2 separate regions of the Homo sapiens genome follow, and region 2 is linked to region 1. The links are contacts of gene promoters, found by promoter capture Hi-C in blood cells and fetal thymus (Javierre and others, 2016). All regions are on one chromosome and are shown on one strand. The core of a region is centred on a gene start or on the middle of the fragment in contact, and the rest is flanking DNA. Distances in the headings are between cores, read along the strand shown.

What was found. The method cuts DNA at HindIII sites, captures the fragments that hold promoters and counts their contacts. A CHiCAGO score of 5 or more calls a contact.
Region 2: a contact is called between a fragment that was not itself captured here and the fragment with the promoter of DUOXA1 in region 1, in 1 of 17 cell types (naive B cells). The highest score is 5.4, in naive B cells.

What each region holds. Positions count from the first base shown.
Region 1 is chr15:45,127,838-45,133,538 of GRCh38, forward strand. It overlaps DUOXA1 (dual oxidase maturation factor 1), which reads right to left and starts at 2,042. Exons shown (of 9, transcript NM_001276266.2): 1 at 2,015-2,042; 2 at 1,623-1,778; 3 at 1,181-1,297. DUOX1 (dual oxidase 1) reads left to right here and starts at 2,157. Exons shown (of 34, transcript NM_175940.3): 1 at 2,157-2,261; 2 at 4,081-4,187. The coding sequence starts at 4,130. The HindIII fragment of the contact is 6,225 bases long and covers 1-2,579 here.
Region 2 is chr15:45,256,837-45,262,826 of GRCh38, forward strand. SLC28A2 (solute carrier family 28 member 2) reads left to right here. Exons shown (of 18, transcript NM_004212.4): 4 at 5,179-5,270. All of the region lies in intron 1 of SLC28A2-AS1 (SLC28A2 antisense RNA 1), which reads right to left. Among named protein-coding and RNA genes, the nearest start is that of SLC28A2, 7.6 kb to the left of the region's middle. The HindIII fragment of the contact is 4,355 bases long and covers 498-4,852 here.

The DNA of each region.
Region 1 (5,701 bases), core at 792-3,291:
AGTGTACATTGATATAAATAAGCAGACACAAGATACAGTCAAATATGCACCTACAAATTTAGATAAACAGAGACACAGACGCAAGAACCACCCAGACTGTCATTCTCAGTAATATAGACTTCATCCCAGGCCCCTGTGACAAAATTGGGATGCTTTCTCATGGGGTGGGGGGAGTTTCCCACACTTTAGGGTCCTCCTTTCTCACCTGGCCTAGGGAGGAGGAGGCAGCATCCTCCCTTTCCAGGCTCCCTTATGTACTGAAGACTTTCCTTATGCTCAATCTTATTATAGACACAATTACCCAATCCTTACCTACCACAGGTTGAAGTGGAGTTCCTATGTGTGTATGAGAGGTGGGTAAAACATAAAGTTACAATCTTTAAGAAAATTCAGCCTAGAACAACCTCCAGCCTTCTTCATTCAAAGTTATGTGCTAACGTCTTGTGGCCTCTCTTGTAGCCTGACAGGACTTTTTTCCTGAAGTCTTCCCCCTTGCCCACCTCCCCCATCTGCTGGAAACTATAGAGTAAGGGCCACTAATTCTCCACAAGTGGGGAGTGGGTGACATGGCTGGAGTTGCCAAGACCTCTGATTGGTAATGCACAGCTACTGCAATGTGATGCTTTTTTCTCTGATTGGGGTAGACCCCATTAAACGTTTACAGCTGTGGCTAGCTAAGGGGACCCTGTCAGGAACTCCTGTGCTAGACTTTCCTCTTCAAGGAAGGGGTCTGTGTGTACGTGTGTATCTGTGTATGAATGTATATGTGTGTTGTTGCACAAAAATAGGAGTTAAGTGGAGAAATTGAACAAGATCTGAAAAGTGGATTGGAGGCAGGATTCCCCAGTAAGGGCTGATGTGGATAAGGAATTCAAGGGTGCAGAATCATGCAAGCCAAAGTATCCAGACTCGAGTTAAACTGGGATGGCGATTCGATGTCTATAAACCTTGTGGCATTTATGGCCTTAAGAGGTTTTCCTTGCCTCCCCAGTTTCTTACCAAACTCTCTCTTTGAAGAACTCCCACTTGATCCGAACTTGGTCTGGATGAAAGCAGGAAGTGCAGCCCTAGGTGCCAGGGCGGGAGCAAGCACTTCAAGACCCCCTCCAAAATCACCTGGACCGCACAGATCTAAGCAGCCGCATCCCCCACCACCCACACCCGGACCACTATTCCCTACCTTCCCCTCTTCCAAACAGTGCGTGTGTGGCAGCCTGCGCCTCTCGCCTTCCCCCGTGGAACCTCACACGAAGCGCCCCCGGGGGTGTGATTAAAGAGGGAACCAGGTCCCGACGTTCTGTGAACAAACGCGCGCCCTTACTCTCAGTGGGGCTCCCGTCCGACCCCCACTCCTCTCCTAACTCACGTAAGGACCCGGCTGTGACCGGACAAACCGGGTCTGGGGTGCTTCCAGTCACTCTTCAAGTCACTCCCAAACTTCTCAGACTGCACCCGAGGCTCTGCGGCGCCGCCTCCCTCTCCCGGCCTGGTACAGAGAAGGGCTGGGTGCGCCAGGACAGTAGTACCGGGGTCTGCCAGCTCCGCAGAGGTCCCTCCAATCCCCCCTCCTCCTCTGCGCCCCCCCACCCATGCCCAGCAATCCCAGCAGCTCCAGCGCAAACCTAGCGACGCAGTTCCGGGTCTGGCGGGGCGCGGGCGCGGCTCGCAGGGCGGTGGGACCCCCAAGACCTCACGAGGATCCCCGGAGGGAGACGTGACTCCGGGGTCTTAGAGGGGTTTAGGTCGGATGGGTGACTTGCTTTGACGCCTGGCCTGGTCTGTGGGTGGCAGGTGATCGATGGCCTTGGACTTGGAGCCCAGACCCGACGGTGTCGAGAGGATCTGAGGAGAGTCTCCCCTCCCCATACCCTCTCCGCCTCCCACCCTCTCCCCAGCCCCATGGGACTTGTGAAGGCGGACTTGCTTTTTTCGCCGTCCACACAACCGCACTAGCCGGGCCTTCGGCACCGACGGAACATCTCTACCTGCGCCCCGGGAGCCCTCGCCGTCTCACCTCGCGCGCTGCCGTCCGCTGGAAGCACCTCCGCGCCTCCCCAGGCGCCAGACTCCATCCCGCCCCACTGCGCCCCGCCCCGTGGCTGAGCCGAGCCGGGCCGTGCCTTCCCCTCCTCACCCCCAGCCCCGCCCGTCCCGGCGCAGAGCTGCAGAGGCACCGGACGAGAGAGGGCTCCGCGGGCCCAGCTGGCAGCCAGGCCGGAGACAAGTTGCAGTCCCGGGCTCTGGTGACGCCGTGGCCGCAGGTCAGATTTGGGAGGGCTTTTCCCGGCCCGCGGGCCTGGGCGCTCCGGGGGAGGGAGCTCCAAGGGCAGGGTGGCGGGGGAGCCGCAGCTCCTCCACGTTATGGAAGAAAGGGGAATGCTAGCCCCCTGCGCCTCCGATCTTATCCTAAGGCTAAAACCGGTCCTGTTAGGGCCTGTCCTCTGCCCAATCAAGGTTTTGAGAGACTGGGTTCTTTGGGACCTGGGAATGTTGGGTGGCCTAGTTTGCCTGGGCCTGCGGGTTCTTCTCCTGGCACCAGCACAACATACCAGGGAGGGAGCTTTGGGCTTTAGGATCCAAGCTTTCCCCCTCAGCCCTCCCTTAGGACCAAGATGGCCTTGACCCATCTTCCTCCCACCTCAGGGCCACCAGGGTCACCACTCTAGGGCTTCAGGCTGGAAAAGCAGCCATGTGGGGCAAGAACAGGCAGGCCTGTGTTCTCTCTCTGGTTCTGCCGCTGGCTCTGCCTGGGGCTTCACTGCCCTGTCCTGGGCAACCTTCCTGTCAAGGTTGTTGAGAAGTTACTGCCCCATCGTTGTGTAAATCATTAAGGGCAACCCACCCACAAGGAGTGGTTATTAAGCATGTCCACCTTCCTCTTCAGGTCATCCCCACACAGCCTGGTCTGAAAGCCCATTTCATGCCCTTAGGGGCTGAGTGGTACATTAGCGTTGAGGCCCAGGATCCTGAAGACATGGTGGTGGCGGGGGAGGGGAATGACATCTTGGGATCAGGGAAGGACCGCTGTGGCTACTTCCGTATATCCAGCTTTACAGCTTCAACCATCCAGAGCCCAGCTCTTCATGCACTATTAAAGGCCAGCACCTGGACAGACTCTGTGAAATGCAGCAGGTGATACTGAGCTTTCCAGTTATGGCAGGGCCTAGGTTTTTTCATTTAATAGGAGATGGAGTAGGGATGAGGTCACTCCCTGGGTTCTCTCCTCTAGACAACCCATCCAGGAACCCTGATGTTTGGCTGGGGATGAGGCTTTCCCTGAGCTCCTTTCTTCCTCTATCCTAACCCCAATCTCCAGGTTGCCTTCAGGAGGTCTTCGCCGGCTTTAGGTACTCCTTACTCGCACTCAGGAGTCCCAGCCTGAGTCCTCTGCTGCCTCTGTTTCCCTGTTGACTCTGGGTGGAGAGAGAGAGAGCAGGAAGCTTGCACTAAATACATGAGCACCTGGTAGTGCATCCCTTCTGGATCCAACCAGAGGAGACAAGCTCCCGCCTACCCTCTCTATATCACATTTGCCCAACACCTGTCACTTGCTTTGAATTAAACCTCCTTCTCACATTTGATTCTGGCAACCATGCTTAGAAGTAAACAGTTCAGGCATATTTGCTCCCATAGCTGGAAGAGGAAAACAAGGATCAGATTGGAGAAGTGATTTATCTAAGATCCCACAGTGGACTGGGAGCAGCACTGAGACCTCAGCCTAGTCTCCTGATCCCCAAGCAGGGCCCTGCCTAAGGAACACACTCTGCAGAGTGCTGGGCCAAAGCAGGGTTTTCCAACTAATCTTAGAAGGTAAAGTCCATGAAGGTATGTACCAGGGATTTCTGTTTGTTTTGTTCGTCACTTAATCTCCAGTGTCTATGTCAGTGGCTGGTATGTAGTGGTGCTCATGAAGTATTTGCCGAATCAATTAAAGAATTTTCGGAAAGAGTGAGTCTCTTGAACTTTGCTACCTACTGTGACCTTGGCCCAGCCCCAGGCCTTGATTCACAGAGGCCTGCAGAGTCTTTCACCTGATTCTTCTGAGTAGCTGGGGCTCATTCTTTGCCTGTCTTTTTCTAGGGTCTCCATTTTGGGACATTCTAATCCCTGAGCCCCTATTATTTTCATCATGGGCTTCTGCCTGGCTCTAGCATGGACACTTCTGGTTGGGGCATGGACCCCTCTGGGTGAGTACAGATTGGAGGAGAAGCATGGTTAGGAGCAGAGGAACCCAGCATCCTCTGGGCTCCCCCAAGGACAGGATCCATTTGATATTCATCTGTATCTTTAGTCTCTAGCTGACACAGTGCCCTGCACATGAGAGTTGCTCATTTCTAGCTGTTGAAGAAATAGATGGATAATGGAATGAAAATTATCCCCAAATACACAGAATTAGGGAGCCTTCAGCTGCTGTCAGCACTTTCTCTTTTATTCTTACAGTTTGGGGGCCCTTTCTCTCTCCTCTCTCTTCTCTTGTTTTCCATAAAGTGAGGGCCTCTGACTCAAAATAGGAAAAGATTGATTAGACACATAAGACAATAAAGGATCTTGGGGTCAGATTGGACCCAAAGCTGAAGGGGAGTCATCAATATGTTTAAACATTATGATGAAAAACAAAAGCAATATCTTCCATAAGAGTTTCATGTTGCTGCCTTCAGTAGACAGTTTCTTGCTGGAATCTGAGGCTGCTCTCTGCAGTCCGGATCTCTGTGGAGGGAAGTGGGCCTACAGTGCCACAGTTAAAGTTAAAAGATCAAGTCCCTGATCACTGGGGATGGGAGATGCAAAAGCAGAAAGCAGAGAAAACCTGTAGAAGGATCTGTCCTGGCTGGAGGTGACAGGATGGTGACACCTTCCCTACAACTTCTCCCTTGCCAGAGCTACTCACATCCACGTTCCTTCCAGCCCTCTTCTTTCCCTAGCTTTGGATTTCCCTTTTTTCCCTCAGCTCTCACCTCTTATCCCCAAGAGGCGCTTTCCCTGTACTGTCCTGCAAAGGCTCTCTCCTTTATGTGCCACAGGTTCATTTTATTTTAGAGATCACATGTGTGGCCCTGCCCAAAGTCTTGAACCTTAGCTGGGTTCTTTGCTCAAACATCAGGCCCTGAGTCATTTTCCCCCCTGACTCTCTGCTGAGTGAGTGTGAATGTGTGCGTCTGTTCTCTGAAGTGAGCAGAGAAGAAGCCCCAGGCCTATAGACTCCTAGTTTGGGGGAAAGAATCAGGCCAGCTATCTGCTCTACTGATCAGAAAGATCCCTGCTCCATCCCTGATTCCATTATCCATTCTGGATCTTCCCTCTGTCCCTCATTCCTCAGTTCTTTCCCCAGCAGCTGAGTGCTCCCTCCTGGACCCTCATTTTGGAGAATACAACAGGATCAAGAGGAGGAATTGTATGGGGGACAAGATGCCCCAGAAAAAGGGCAAAGTCATCCACATCACCAGTCCAGTCCCTGGTCCTACCCAAGAAACTGGGGAAAAAAGCAGTAGCAACACCACACCCTTGCCCTGGGCTCTGCTCAGCCAGAGATGACTAGTCCCCTCACCACACCGACCCTGCCCAGGGATGGGTCACAGAATGACATGTCCTTCTCCGGTATGGAGTGTGGCTGGCTCTTGCTCTGTGTGGTGTCTTAGGGCTGGGGATGGATTCTGTCCTGTTGTGTCCCCTCAGGGAGCTGAAGTTTAAGGGGAGTAAAGTC
Region 2 (5,990 bases), core at 1,425-3,924, 130 kb after region 1:
TATAGCTTCTACCAAAACTACCTAAAGTATGTCTGAACTCCCTTATATCACAAACCTCTGTAGCTCTCCAGTTGCTCCTGAACAAAGCCAAACTCCACAGCCTGGTATTCAATTCTCCCCAAAACCTCTTCCCCACAACCAGGATCTGTATCCAACTTGACTTTCCAACATTAACTCTTGCAATTCCCTTTCTAATGCCACCCTATGCTCTAGTGAAAGTCAACTATCAACTGTTCCTTATATGTAATCCCCAGTTTCCTGCCTCCATGTCATGCATGTCATTACATCATTGCTTATGAGTGTACTGTCTTCATTTTTTGTCTTTGTGCCCAAATACAACACATATTTTAAGGCTCAACTCAAGAGCAATCATGTCCATGAAACTTTCCCTGATGCTGCCTCTCCTCCCCTCAACCTCACTGGCCCCAGTACTAAAAGGTCCCTTCTTTCTCCAAACTTCCATAACATTCTATCTGACCCTCTCTTATAACACTTTAAGCTTTTGACATTTTGTTATAGACTTACATGTATATTATATCCCCTATACTGGACTGTAAATACATTGAGGGCAAGATCAATGTCTATTTCATCCTTTTGTCTCCTATAACACTGGAAACAATGCTTTACCCATAGTTTATACTTAAAATGCCATAACATTCAAAATTCAATAAATACATGTTAATAAGTTATGTATATAATCTAGATAACAGACTTTGTAATTTCTTCATGTGTACATTTTTCAATTCTGTTTTGTTTCTGTATTGATTTTTAAGTATTTATTTCTTTTTCTTCTTGTTCTTTTGTTTGATTAACTCTGATGATCTGGGGTGCTTTGTAGGGAGTAATCTGACATGTAGCTTTAAGCTGATGCTTTTCCATACTGATACCCACTTTTCTAGCAAGTTATTAAATTGTGAGTTCTTTCTCTATTCTGATGTTGCTTCGACTTTATTAAGTTAATGTGATGATTTGGATTTATTTTTAAATCTTTTGTTTCACTGACACAGTTCTGAGTACTTAACACGATATCATTGTTTACAATGTACATTAAAACTTGATGGCTCATGTATTTGCATTAGTTTTTCCTTTAAAAAATATTCCTTGGGGCTGGGCATGGTGGCTCATGCCTGTAATCCCAGCATTTTGGGAGGCCAAGGCAGGCAGATCACTTGAGGTCAGAAGTTTGAGACCAGCCTGGCCAACATGGTGAAACCTAGTCTCTACTAAAAATACAAAAATATGTGGGCATGGTGGTGGGCACCTGTTCTCCTAGCTACTCGGGAGGCTGAGGCAGGAGAATTTCTTGAACCTGGGAGGCGGAGGTTGCAATGAGCCAAGATCATGTCATTGCACTCCAGCCTGGGCAACAGTGAGACTCCGTCTCAAAAATATATATACTATATATTTTTTTTGTCAAATTTTATTTTATTATTATTATTCTTAATTTATGTTTTTGGGACTGCATGCCATAGTTTAACTGGTACAGTTTTTTTTGCCTTTTTAGTGTAATGTTTAATAAAGCATAGCATGCATACAGAAAAATAAACATAAGCCTTAATGAATTTTCACAAAGTGAATACAACCATATGACCATCGACCAGATGAAGAACCAAAACATTATCTGTACCCAAGAACCATTTTATGTTTCCTTTCAGTCAGCCTCCCTAAGGGTAATCATTATCCTGACTTTTAGCATCATAGATTAATTTTGCCTGTGTTTGGACTTTATATGGGAAGTCTAATTTATACTTTAAATGAAAATATACCATATATATACTTTTGCTTCTTTTGCTTTACATTGTGCTTTGGAGATTCTTCCATATTATTGCATATATTGTACTTTGTACATTTTTAATTGCTGTATAGTATTTCATTGTAAGAATCTACCACAGTTTATCTGCTCATTTTACTGTGGGTCTGAATTTTAGTAGTTTCTATGCTTTTGCTATCATAGTGCAGCTATGAACATTTTTGTGCATGTCTTTTAGTAAAGATAAATACACCTTTCTACTGGGTATATACTTTGGAGTGGAATTGCCATGCTATAGGGTATGTGTAGGTTTATGTAGCTTTAACAGATGCTAAACATATTTTTAGCAAATTTCACTCCCCTGGCAGTGTTATGAGAGCATGTCTTTTTTCATTGTCTCCATTGTATGTGTGTAGTATTATCACATTGTAGCTTTGGTTTGTATTTCCCTAATGGCTAAGGAACTTGTGCATCTTTTCGGCTTTTTCTGGCCACTGAATATTCTCTTTTGTGAAGTGCCTGTTCAGGTCTTTAATTGGCAGTGTTTTTCTTTCTTAGTGTATAAAAATAGTAGTACATTTTATAAATGATGAAATACAAACAAGAGTACATTTTAAGCACTTGCCATTAAAAAAACTAGTATGTAAGGTAATACATGTGTTAATTAGCTTGATGTAGCCATTCCACAATTTATATATATTTTAAGCCATCATGTTGTATACCATAAACATATACAATTTTTGTCAATTTTATTTTAAATTTTTTTTAGAGATGGGGTCTCACAATATTGCCCATGCTAATCTTGAACTATTGGGCTCAAGTGATCCTCCCTCCTTGGCCTCCCAAAGTGCTAGGATTACAGGTGTGAGCCACTGCACCCAGCCAATTTTTGTCAATTTTAAAAAGAAGTACAAAATTAATACCCTGAATGATGTTGCTACCACTGTAAATGATACTTTCATACTTTCTAGCTATCTGTCACAAGTATATAGGCAAATCATTTTTATGAGTTTATCTATCTACCTATTCTTTTATTCAGCAAACACTTATTGAACATCTATTATGGGCCGGGCACTTGTTAGCGACCTAAAGCAATAATAGTATGTGCTAGGTACTAATTTAGGCACCAAGAATACAAAGATAAAAACAGAAATGCTCCTTTCCCTGATATGCTCAAAACCTAATAAAGACAGGTAAACAGAAAAATGACAATATCATGCTATATGGTAAGTGCTATATGGTAAGTGAGTTGTGGTCAGGAGGTGATGGAAGAAATCTTTTCTAGGCATGCAATTTGTATCTACTCTTGGACTAGTCCAGCCTGCCTCTTACTTTGCAGGAGGCTTACTCAACTGGCATTTGACTGCATATAATTTTAAACTAGCTTTATCTAGTACATCGGTTTAGGTCCCAACAGGAAACAGATGGCATACTTAAATTAAGATAATTATAGGAGAATTTATTTACAAAGAGACCATTACAAAGATATGTATGAGGTATGGTGACACCATAAGAAAGGATAATGCAAGAAGCAAAAGTCTTGAAGCAGTGAACAGTTACTATTCGTAGGCCTGAAGGAATAAGATGTAAGAGCACCTGGCAGGAGAGTCAGATAAAAAGACCTCCTCAACACACTGACCTGTCTTTTCATACACTCTGATCATCTGTGGAGGTCCCAGTAGCAGAACCCAACCTGATAAGCCAGAGGACATGGGAGTACATTGATGTAGTTTACATGAGTTAAATTCCCAGGGCACAGAGTGGAGTGGAGAGTGGTGCTGGAGGAGCACACCAAAGATATCTGGCACACATGGGAAGGCCAGGATTGAAATTAAATTCATTCCTTGATATACTTTGCAAATGATGTTCCAAAGATAATGATGTCCTCAGGTATGCTGGCCCTTTTACTCACTACTTTCTCTATTAAGCATGGAAAAATGAGGAAGGATCACTTGAGCCCAGGAGTTTGAGACCAGCCTGGGGAACATAGCAAGACCTCATCTCTACAAAAATTTAAAAAAGAAAATTAGCTGGGCGTGGTGGTGCACACCTGTAGTCCTAGCTACTCAGAAGGCTGAGGCAGGAGGGTCACTTGAGCCTGGGAGTTCAAGGTTGCAGTGAGCCATGATCATGCCATACCACTGCACTCTAGCCTGGGCAACAAAGTGAGACCTTGTCTCTTAAAGAGAAGAAAAGCAAAGCAAAGCAAAGCAGAGTTCTTGAGATCCTAAAGAATCATCTTGAGTTGATCCAGTCAGATGGTGATAAGCATTGTTTCCTCCTTTCTCAGCTTACCTGTATCTCATAGTACACACTCTGCTCAGCTAACACAGGGTTGGGCTTCCTGCAGAAGGGACAGGAGGGGATGGGGGCAGGAATGAAAAGGAAGACTAGGAACTGGGAGTGTGTTAGATGGGAGGGGCAGCCATGGAACTCCATGGGCCAAAGCCCCAGGGCATTAGGAGTTAATGGCTGGTCCTAACCCTGGCTAAGCTGCCCTGCCTCAGCATGACTGCCAGACTGGGACCTTCTTGCTGGGATCACCTTCTCTGGAGCTCCCAAGATTTTGGAAATTAGAGCTTTTGGCTCAGATGGCTGCAGCATGCTGAGCATACTTAGGAGTGGAAAAGACAGGCAACCCTGGAATCTAGGGAAGATGTGGCATAGAATGATGGTTAAGAGCTCAGATGCTGAAGCCAGAGTGTATATTCTGTGTTCGCTCCTTACAGCCTGTATGACTTTGGGAAAGTTATTTAACTTCTGTTTTTCAGTTTCCATACTGTAAAATGGGAATGCTAATAGTAACAGCTCCAGGGGTCTTAAGAGGAGTCAATGAGTTAGTATTTGCTAAGTTCTTAGAAAGAGCTCAGCATAGAGAAAGCACTATATACATGTTTGTTAAATCAAACTTGAATATCCCTACTTGCTGGGCCTCTTCTCTCAGGCCTGCACATCCAGAGCAATTCTTGAGGTTGGTAGCATTTTCCTTCCTGTCTGTCAATGCACATTTGGCTGACTGTTCAAGGCCATAGGTTTGTTTGGTTTTTAGGGAGGGATGGCCAAATTGCCTCTAAGAAGAACAGGCCCTCTTGTGAATATGGAAGCTTAGCAATCCTCTGTCCTTTCAGAATGGGAAAGGAAAGTAGTAGACCCCTGACATGAGCAGTACCCACTTCTATGGTAGGAGACTACCAAGGATATTGCTAGTTCGGGCTGAGTAGGGTATTCTGACCTGCTGCCCACCAGCAAGGTTTGATTTGCCCTTTTTGGCATTGCAGGACACTACCTAACTTCCTCCTGGCTGAAGAATATTCTTCATTGACTAAGAGCTAATTCTGCCTTGTGTTAGGTAATCTGAATTCTGAGAGTTGAATTAATAGAAATGGGATGGAGTAATTCTTGTATCTTAACTTTTGGGTTCTTATTAGGAGGAGTCGGTGGCCTTTCAGCAAAGCAAGAAGTTTCTGCAAAACACACGCCAGCTTGTTCAAGAAGATCCTGTTGGGCCTGTTGTGTTTGGGTGAGATATTGAGAATTCATGAAAGTGAGAAACACAGTTATTTTAGAAATTTGCCTTGTGTCAAGGTGATTACCAGGTGGAAGGCATTTTTATTCAAAACTGATCTAAAAAGCTATTTGATGTATCAATCTTAACTACTTGTAGGTGCACCATAATGTATTGAATTGCACTTGTAGGAACAAGTGAAATCTGAGAATAAACTATTTTTCAAAAGTGTACTATTTGATGGATTTAAAATATTTCAGAGAATGGGGGCTTATCCTTTTTTTAGTGGCTTGATTTGGTGGAGTGCATGATTCTTACAGCCTTGATGACAGAAGCCTGTATTATACCTTACTTATTTGCTGGTTTACTACTATATCATTGGATATAAAATATTCTTAAAAGACAGCAGATCTCTGTTTAAAACATACTGTCAGTGGTATATGGGGCTTTAATGTCAAAATAGGAGGCACCTGGGATGGTGGGAGCAAAAATTATATTTTGGGATGAGTAAGAGAGCCATGGGATGAGGTCCACATGGCTGCACTTCCCAGTGGTAGCTTTGTTTACATGGTTTGTTCCAGAGGCAAGGTTAAAGTGACTGGGGTAATAAAGTTTCAAGGGGAGATGACTGACTTTTGAAGAGTCTAATGGTGAACACTGATCAAATCTACTCCAAGGGACAGAGAGAGGATATTAGATAAAATAGAAGGGAATGAGATTTCATTAGGGACCAGT